Regions from separate parts of the Homo sapiens genome. Here all the other regions are linked to region 1. The links are contacts of gene promoters, found by promoter capture Hi-C in blood cells and fetal thymus (Javierre and others, 2016). All regions are on one chromosome and are shown on one strand. Each heading gives the region's core, a stretch centred on a gene start or on the middle of the fragment in contact. The rest is flanking DNA. Distances are from core to core; before and after follow the strand shown.

Region 1 (2,562 bases), core at 29-2,528:
CCCAGGGATTTGTAATCCAGGTAAAGCCCAGGAGAACAGCAAAATCTCTGCTGCTTGAGAGGCAGACAAAGGCCAGATCACAGCAGGTTAAAGGATGAGTTCCAGGGTGCTGCCTTGGATGTATGGTGGTGCCATTCAGGTAGTTGGTGAACTACAGGAGGAAGAACAGAGTGTTTTGGGGAAAGGAAGGTAGATGAGATGCACAGAAGACATTCAGGCAGAAATATCAACTAAGTAAGTAGACCTATGTGTTCGAAAGTACTGGGCTGAGGCCTTCCGTTTCCTTATTTTTTTAAATAAAGGGCACAGAGAATATAACAGTACCTAGTTCCCAGGGTTGTTATTGGGACTAAATGGGGAAATGTTGAATGTAAAAGCACCTGGCTCAGGGACTTGCCCATATTAGGTGCTGAATACATGGCAGATATTATTATTTCTCCTGTCTCTTTGCTCTTCCTCCCTCTGCTTTGTTTCTTGTCTCTCTTCTTTTTCCTCCTCTTTAAAAGAATTGTGGTAGGGAAGAGGCACTGAAAATGGGCTGTGGTTGCTTGTGACTTCCTGGCCTCCCATTAAAATGAGCTAGAGAGAGACTTTCAGGCAAGCGTAAAGAAATCCTGGAAACATGGCTCCTATCCTGTGGATTCAGCTTTACGGGGATCTTCGCCAATGCCTGGCTGAGAGGCGGTCTCAGGGGGTTGAGAACTCTATTCTTAGAGGTCTGGTATCTGGGAGACTGAGAAAGCCTTTCTTAAGTCTCCCTGCTGGGCCACGCTGTATTCACAGATCATCTTCAACTCCTTCTTCTTCCCCACCTACTCCTTCGCCCTCACCTCCTTGGCTTATCTCTTGCTAGAAAATGCACCAAGCTCCAATCTCCGTTCCTTTTAGCTTCCTCCCTGAGAAGACACTGTGACCTCGCTGTCCTTGTTCGTGTTACCATGGAGAGGTAGGAGGATAAATATCGCTTCCAGTTGTCAGCTTTTTTGTTTTCTCCTTTCCCTCTTAGACAGCCCCCAGCCCCAATCCCAGTACCCGTTTCACCACCCTCCCCTGGAGAATTAGCATAACCGGAGTAAATAGGTAATCAAGCAGTGTGCTTGCAAGCCTTAATTTTGGGACAGATAAGGAAGTGAAATTGATTGGAATTATACCTGCCGCTGCTGGAGGCTGAGGGAGGCGGCCGCCGGAGGCGAGGCCAGCTCTGTCGGCCCAGGGCCCCGCCCCACCCCCTCCTTCCTCCCTCCTCCTTCTCAGCCCCACCCTTCTCCACCTCCTCCCACTTTGCACTCTCCTCTAGCGGCCGCCTGTCCTTTTTAAGGAACTCCACCCTAGGTGGAGTCCTCACGATAGTCACACCTCTCCTTTGGGCCTAGCAGGGCCAGAGAAAGACGGAATCACTCTACCCACTCAGGTTGCCCAGAGAGCACTTTAGGTTCTGACTCGCGTGGGGCGCGAGGTACCCCGTGGGGCAGCTAGGTGCCTCCAAGAAACCCCGCCCCAGAGGACCCGCACGAGTTGCTGCCATTTTTCGCTGAAGCCCCTGCCCTGGGGCTGGTGTTCTTCTCTATGATTCTACCAATCGTCGGCATTTTTTTCCTCCCTTCTTTCTTTTTAGGAAGGCGCTGGGGTGTGCGGCGGCAACGGCGGCGGTGAAGGGATCCTCTTGTGGTATCTCCTCGTGGGTTCCTGTCTTGAAGGATTTCTTCTCCGCCTCAACTTTATGTTCAAGTAGCGCTTTGGGGGTTGGGTTGGTTTTCATAGCCCCCACCCCCGGCCCTCTCCTTTTAAAGGGTGTGTGGAGTTCAGAGGATGGGTGGAGAGCGGGCTTGGCCGGAACTGAATTGGTAGAGGTAAAAGGGGAACGGAGGACCTTAAGCTCTGGCCACTTCGGCCCAGCGAACCCACTTTATTTTTGTCCAAGGAAAAGCTGCAGGGGGGAGGATTCTTTTTAGGAAGTCTACTCTGCCGGCCCCTGATTTTTGGGTTGGATGCTTGAGAGCTTTGTTTCCCTTGTTCCGAGAGTGGCCCAGCTGGGTCTGAATCGACTCCCTCCCCTTTCGACCCCCTCCTCATTTTCCAGCCCGGAGAAATAGGGGAGTGGGGGCCCAAGAACGAGAAGACGAGAACGCGTCGCCCTGCGCTATGTCAGAATGGGGCGGGTGTGAGGGGAACAGCTCTCTTGCGATCAGCTCAGGAGTATGAGCCTCCCGGAGGACGGCATGAGTTCTGGACACTTCAGGAGTCCTCAGCTAGTGACATGGTCGGTAAGTGACTCTGGGACTAATACCCACCCACTCCCACCTCTTTCGTCTAGATTCTATCCCCCTCCCAGTCCCCCTGCTCCCCCCACACACCCCACTTGGGGTTTCAGCAGTGGGGGCGGGAGCGGAAGGTTAAGAACACTATGTGGAATCAAATGAAACTCAAGGGAAAATGACTTTGCTAAAGGGCTGGGCAAAGAAAGGCCAAGAAGGAGAGGAGAGAGCTTGGTGGAAGAAGTGAAAGGGGGCAAGAATGGATGGATTTGTCTAGTCTAGTCTCCCCTGGCTCGGCACTCCCAAT
Region 2 (2,562 bases), core at 36-2,535, 2.2 Mb before region 1:
TTTCCATCACTCTCAATATCATTCCTTCCCCGACCAGTCAGGAGTCTCATCACCCCCAAAACTGAAATAAATATAAATCTCTAAACTGACCAGCTCGTTCTGTACTTTAAAGATGACAGGGTTCTGGCTGCATCCCTGAAACTCAAAAGGATCTATTCAAAACCCCTCAAACTGACTAGAATTTCCTCACACTCCCGAAACTAAGCAAGGATTCTTTTGCATCGCTCGGAAACTGGCAGCGTTTCCTTGCAGCCCCCCCTCAAACTGATGAGAGCTCCCTAGTCTCCCCAAATGTTCAGGTACCTCACAGTATATCCTAAAACTGACAGTAATAGCCTCGCAGCCCCCAAAACTTACAGGAATCTTAACGCTTCCCCAACTGACAGGAACCTCCTCACGCCCCAAACCTGACAAGAACGTCTTCAGTCCAGAATCCTACAGGGACCTCCTCATGCTTTGGGCTGCAAGGACTCCACGCCCGCGGAGCTCAGCCCCAGCGACACGCCGGCAGCCGGGCTAGCTCCGGGACTGCGAAGCGCCTCAGCGGAGGCTCGTCCGGTAGTTCCGGCCCCTACGGCGACGCGCGTCGAATTCTGGGATAGTCCCCGTACCGCCGGGAACCTCGCTCGCCTTCCCCTCGAGCCCCCCGCTGGGTCGCGCGGCGCCAGCCGCTCAACGGTGCTTCAGAGCAGCCTCCTCCACAACATTCCCCTCGGCCCGGCCGTTCGGGCCTACTGGAGACCGCGGCTTGGGCCTAGTCTGGCGGCCGCCCGGCGAACGGGCAAGTGGCGTCGTCGCTGGGCCGGCAGGAGATACTCGCGAGCAAACCAACGGGGAAAGAGATGAACCGGCCGCCACGTCCGAGGCACACGGCCCGAAAAGTCGCTGGGAGAAGCCCAGTGGCGGTGGTAGGCAATTCGGAGTAGTCAATAAAGTTTATTCAAAACAATGAGGAAGTTGAGGCGGAGAGGGGAGGAGAAATACGGGATAAACAGCTACCATGTTGAGAGTGGCGGCGCTACCCAGACAACCAAGGCGACCGCCATCTTATGAGGGCTGGACTCGCGAGGTGAGCGCGGCGGAGGCGGGGAACCGCGAGCCGCCGGCTCCCGGGTGACGTCATCGGGGGGGCGGGGCGCCACCTTGAGAAAGGAGGGCGGTTCTCAGCCACCTTTGGACCCGCTCGTCTCTTTAAGGTGCCCAATCGCCGCTGAAGACCTTGAGCCCAGAGGCGGAGAAGCCGCCATCTTAGGCGAGGCAGACGTTTGGCTCCATTTTGAGTGGGGCCCGAAACTTCCTAGCCTTCCCCCTCCTCCGGGCAAACAGGGAGTTCAGCTACCCCGACTCGCACACTCCTCCTCCCCAGCCTTCTCCTCCTATGAGAGGAGGTGAACTCGGTGACTCCAAACTACAAAATTAATAGGTGGCGGCGGGGGCGGGCTTCAGCCGGGGTAGAGGCGGAGTACTCACCGCGGCTCCTGTTCATTGAGCACCTTCGATAGGCTGGGCTCTTTCCCACGGTCTCTGCGTTGTTGGTTCTTCCCCCTGTGAAGGAAGCTCTGTGATTATCACCAAATGAAGGCAGGGGCTTCGAGAAGCCAAGTGACTTGAGTCCCGGAGCAGGGACGTTGAACCTTGTGCCCTGTGCTACCCGCGTTCTGTCCCCAGGCCCTCAGTGTAGTTCCTCTGTAAAGCTGCTGCCAACTCCACAACTCCCTCTGAACTCTTCTTTGACCCTACTGTTTCACTTCAGTTCAAATACAGTTCAAGGATTTGTTTGCACCTGTCCCACAATTTTCTGACTATAGCCTGAGGGGAGGGGAGAGGAGGGGGGATGAGAGGAAAGGCTGAGTTAGTGGAGCTTTGCTGAGTTAGTGGAGCTTCGTACATATGCTTCAAGATGGCCTAGGTTTTCTCAAACATTCTAGAAAATTCTCTAGGAGTTATCTTACTATTTCATTTTCTTAAAGGGTCCCATTGCTTTAAAAAGGAAATGTGTGCGTGCACACAATTTACTAACCAGTGATGGTGGGGTAGGCCCTGGGGATGCAATGGTGAAAACAGGGCCTCTGGAGTGGGAGGGCATCTGCCAGTGCAGGAAACAAAGTTGCGAGTAAACAATTGGAATAGAAGGCACAGTAAGCACACAAATACCACCTGCAAAATGACCTTTGCAAAATGCAACATGAAGCTACAAAAGAGCCTTACAAGCTGCTTGCAGCTGCTGTAAGAAAGACGGCAGGGGGACATGGACGATTAAGTTCACTTAAATAAACAAGCGAGAACATTGTACTCAAAAGGATCAACGTGTACAAATGCATGGAGGCACATAGAAAAATATTTACTAGAAGTTGAATATTGTTGGAACAAGGAAAACAGAAGAGAGATAGGTAGGAGGTCAAACAGTAAAGGGTCACAACATGAAAGATTGCGAAATGCAAAAGAGTTTAGATTGTATGCAGTTAGCAAAAAGAAAACACAGGTTTTTGAGCAGGGGTAGCTTAGTCTCATATTTGTGACTTACCCAGAGGATGGTTTAGGGTTTTTTTTTTTTTTTATGTT
Region 3 (2,562 bases), core at 17-2,516, 2.0 Mb before region 1:
AATGGACACAGATGGGTAAAAAAGCAGCAGTGGGTGAAGACGGAAAAACAATGTAGAAGAAAGGTGTTCAGTTCACACCTGCTTAAGTGATTTACTGCGAGGTTGGAAAGAGATACAGGAGAGAGATGTCAACTGGCAAAAGCAGGGTAAAGGCATTTCAGTTTGAGGCAGAAGACACCAGGAGAAAGATGAGGCTACAAAAGAAATTCTGACTAGATTCTGCTGAAACCTAGTGGTAGGCCAATTGGATAAGGGAAGCTAAAGGGAGCTACTGGGATGACATGAGTAGAGATATGGCCATGTAGGTGAGTGAATCCGTAGGGGGTGGTATGAAGGGGGAGGTAAATGGATAAAATGGTAGAGGGTAGTTAGGCAGGTAGGTTAGCTGTTGGGCGGGTAGGTGGGTGGGTAGATGGGAGGTAGGGTAGTGGGTAAGTGGGTAGGTGGTTAGGTATTTAGTTGGGAGGGAATAGGTGTGGGGCTTATTATTTAAGATCCGGCCCCTCCCTCACCTTGACCCGGAAGCGGATGAGTGCTAGCCTCACGCAGTGGCTCAGGCAGGCCGGTGGCAGGAACCAGGCCCGCGGTGGAGGGGTGCCCTTGTTGCCCACGTGTCCCACGATCAGTTGCGCTGTCTGCCGCTCGGCCTGGCACCGACGGCCCCACTCGGCCAGCCGGTCCTTGCCCAGGCCCCCCGGGAACATGACCACGAGCTCCAGGCCGTCGCCGCCAGGATAGGCACAAGCCTGGCACAGCGCTGACAAGTAGCCCAGCATGGCGTTCCATTGGCCGCCACACACCCAATCCGTCTGGTAGCCGCCATAGAGCCGCGGCAGCGCCGAGCCGGCGTCCACCAGCACCCGGGCCCCGGGCAGCTGAGGGGGCGGCGGCGGCGGCAGCGGAGGGTGCAGCCCGGGCTGCGCTTGGCCATGATGGTGGAAGTGGTGAGCGGGGTGATGGTGCCGAGTCGGCCCCGCGCCCCCGGAGTAGGCACCCAAGGCAGCGGGCGGAAGCGGCGGTTGCAGAGGCACGGAGCCCCTGGCGGCGCGTGGAGCCCCGGGCGCTAGGGCTGCAGTCGGCGGCAGCTGGCGGTGCAAGTGCTGCTGCTGCTGCTGGCGCGAGACCGTGCGCGCGAGTTTTAGGAGGTCCACGGGCACCACGGCCCCGGGACAGCGCTTCTCCAGGAACTCTTGGAAGCCCTGGACACCCATGCTTCGTCGGTGGGCAGACGCGATAGCGGCTGCGCAAGCAGGATAGGCGACGATCTGGGCGCGAAGCTGGGGGCGGGCGCGTGCGCACTCCGCGGGGGGCGAGGGGGGGCGGGAAAAGGATTCCCGAGGGGAGGGGTGAGGAAGCGAGGGAATGAGGGCGGGGAGGGGAGGAGACCACAAATTGGATTTGGGTAGAGAGAAGGGGAGGGGCAGACCGGACCCGGGAGAGGCTGGGAGGATAAAAGCGAGGATGGGCTCTAGTCACTTCTCTTTTTTCTCCTTTCCGGCCGCTCTTCTTCCCGCTTTAGAAGGGGTGAAGCCTCTTTCTTCCACCTCCGGGAGCCATGTTGCCTCGTCTTCTCGGTGGTACACGCTTTCTAGCTGGAGGAAGGGGAGCGAGGAGGGGCGGGGCGGGGCGGGGAGAGGGGCATCTTGGTAGTTGTAGTCTTCTCTATGGCCTTAGGATATAGTCGAGGAACCAGACTACCACCCTTCTCAGCCCTTGTGCTCACAGGGTCACAGGAAGCGGGGCGTGATGATGAGTGTTTAGGAGTTGCACTCCAACTCCTTGCATCTCACTGAGTTGCTTAGGTTATTTACTGCTTTTTCCTGGAAAAAGAGTTTTGGGGGATGGATTGATGCATCATGGGAATGGAAGTTAGAGTGGATTGACTGAATTCAGCTAAAGTGAGCTAAAACTCCCCAGGAGGGAGGATTTTCCCCTTAGTGGAAAGATAATATTTAAAGAGCTGTTGGTCCCAATTAAGAAAGACGTAACTGGTCGGGCGCGGTGGCTCACGCCTGTAATCCCTCCGAGGCGGGCAGATCACGAGGTTAGGAGATCGAGACCATCCTGGCCAACATGGTGAAACCCCGTCTCTACTAAAAATACAAAAAGTAGCCGGGCGTGGTGGCACGTGCCTGTAATCCCAGCTACTGGGGAAGCTGAGGCAGGAGAATCGCTTGAACCTGGGAGGCGGAGGTTGCAGTGAGCCAAAATCATGTCACCGTACTCCAGCCTGGTGACAGAGCCAGACTCCGTCTCAAAAATAAATAAATAAATAAAAAGAAACTTACATTATTTACTTGCCTAAGGCAATGCAGAGACAAAGTTAAATCGAATATCCTTGCCCTCAGCATCTCTTTGGGCAGGGAGATAATTACCAACACAAATTACATTACAAATTGTACCTTTTTGGTACTCCTAGATCCACTATGTCCTATGGTTAGGGCCTTTGGTTTCCAAACTTCATTGTGTTTTAGTCTGTCGGGAGCTTTTCTAAATAGCTGCAAGGGCTCTAATTTCAGATGTATGGAGTCATAATCTTTTGAAAAATGTATTTTCAACATA

The links. Contacts are between HindIII fragments. The CHiCAGO score rates a contact against its expected background, and 5 or more counts as called.
Region 2: a fragment that was not itself captured here is called in contact with the fragment with the promoter of KLF8 in region 1 in 1 of 17 cell types (M0 macrophages); the score reaches 7.0 in M0 macrophages.
Region 3: the fragment with the promoter of FAM120C here is called in contact with the fragment with the promoter of KLF8 in region 1 in 1 of 17 cell types (M2 macrophages); the score reaches 9.7 in M2 macrophages.

What each region holds. Positions count from the first base shown.
Region 1 is chrX:56,231,078-56,233,639 of GRCh38, forward strand. It overlaps KLF8 (KLF transcription factor 8), which reads left to right and starts at 1,279. Exons shown (of 6, transcript NM_007250.5): 1 at 1,279-2,264. The coding sequence starts at 2,258. The HindIII fragment of the contact is 3,283 bases long and covers 1-2,562 here.
Region 2 is chrX:54,043,405-54,045,966 of GRCh38, forward strand. It overlaps PHF8 (PHD finger protein 8), which reads right to left and starts at 1,069. Exons shown (of 22, transcript NM_015107.3): 1 at 358-1,069. RefSeq lists enhancers at 741-990, 1,201-1,660 and a silencer at 1,011-1,180. The HindIII fragment of the contact is 3,125 bases long and covers 1-2,562 here.
Region 3 is chrX:54,181,988-54,184,549 of GRCh38, forward strand. It overlaps FAM120C (family with sequence similarity 120 member C), which reads right to left and starts at 1,267. Exons shown (of 16, transcript NM_017848.6): 1 at 513-1,267. The coding sequence starts at 1,211. RefSeq lists silencers at 760-809, 820-1,029, 1,600-1,699. The HindIII fragment of the contact is 3,156 bases long and covers 1-2,562 here.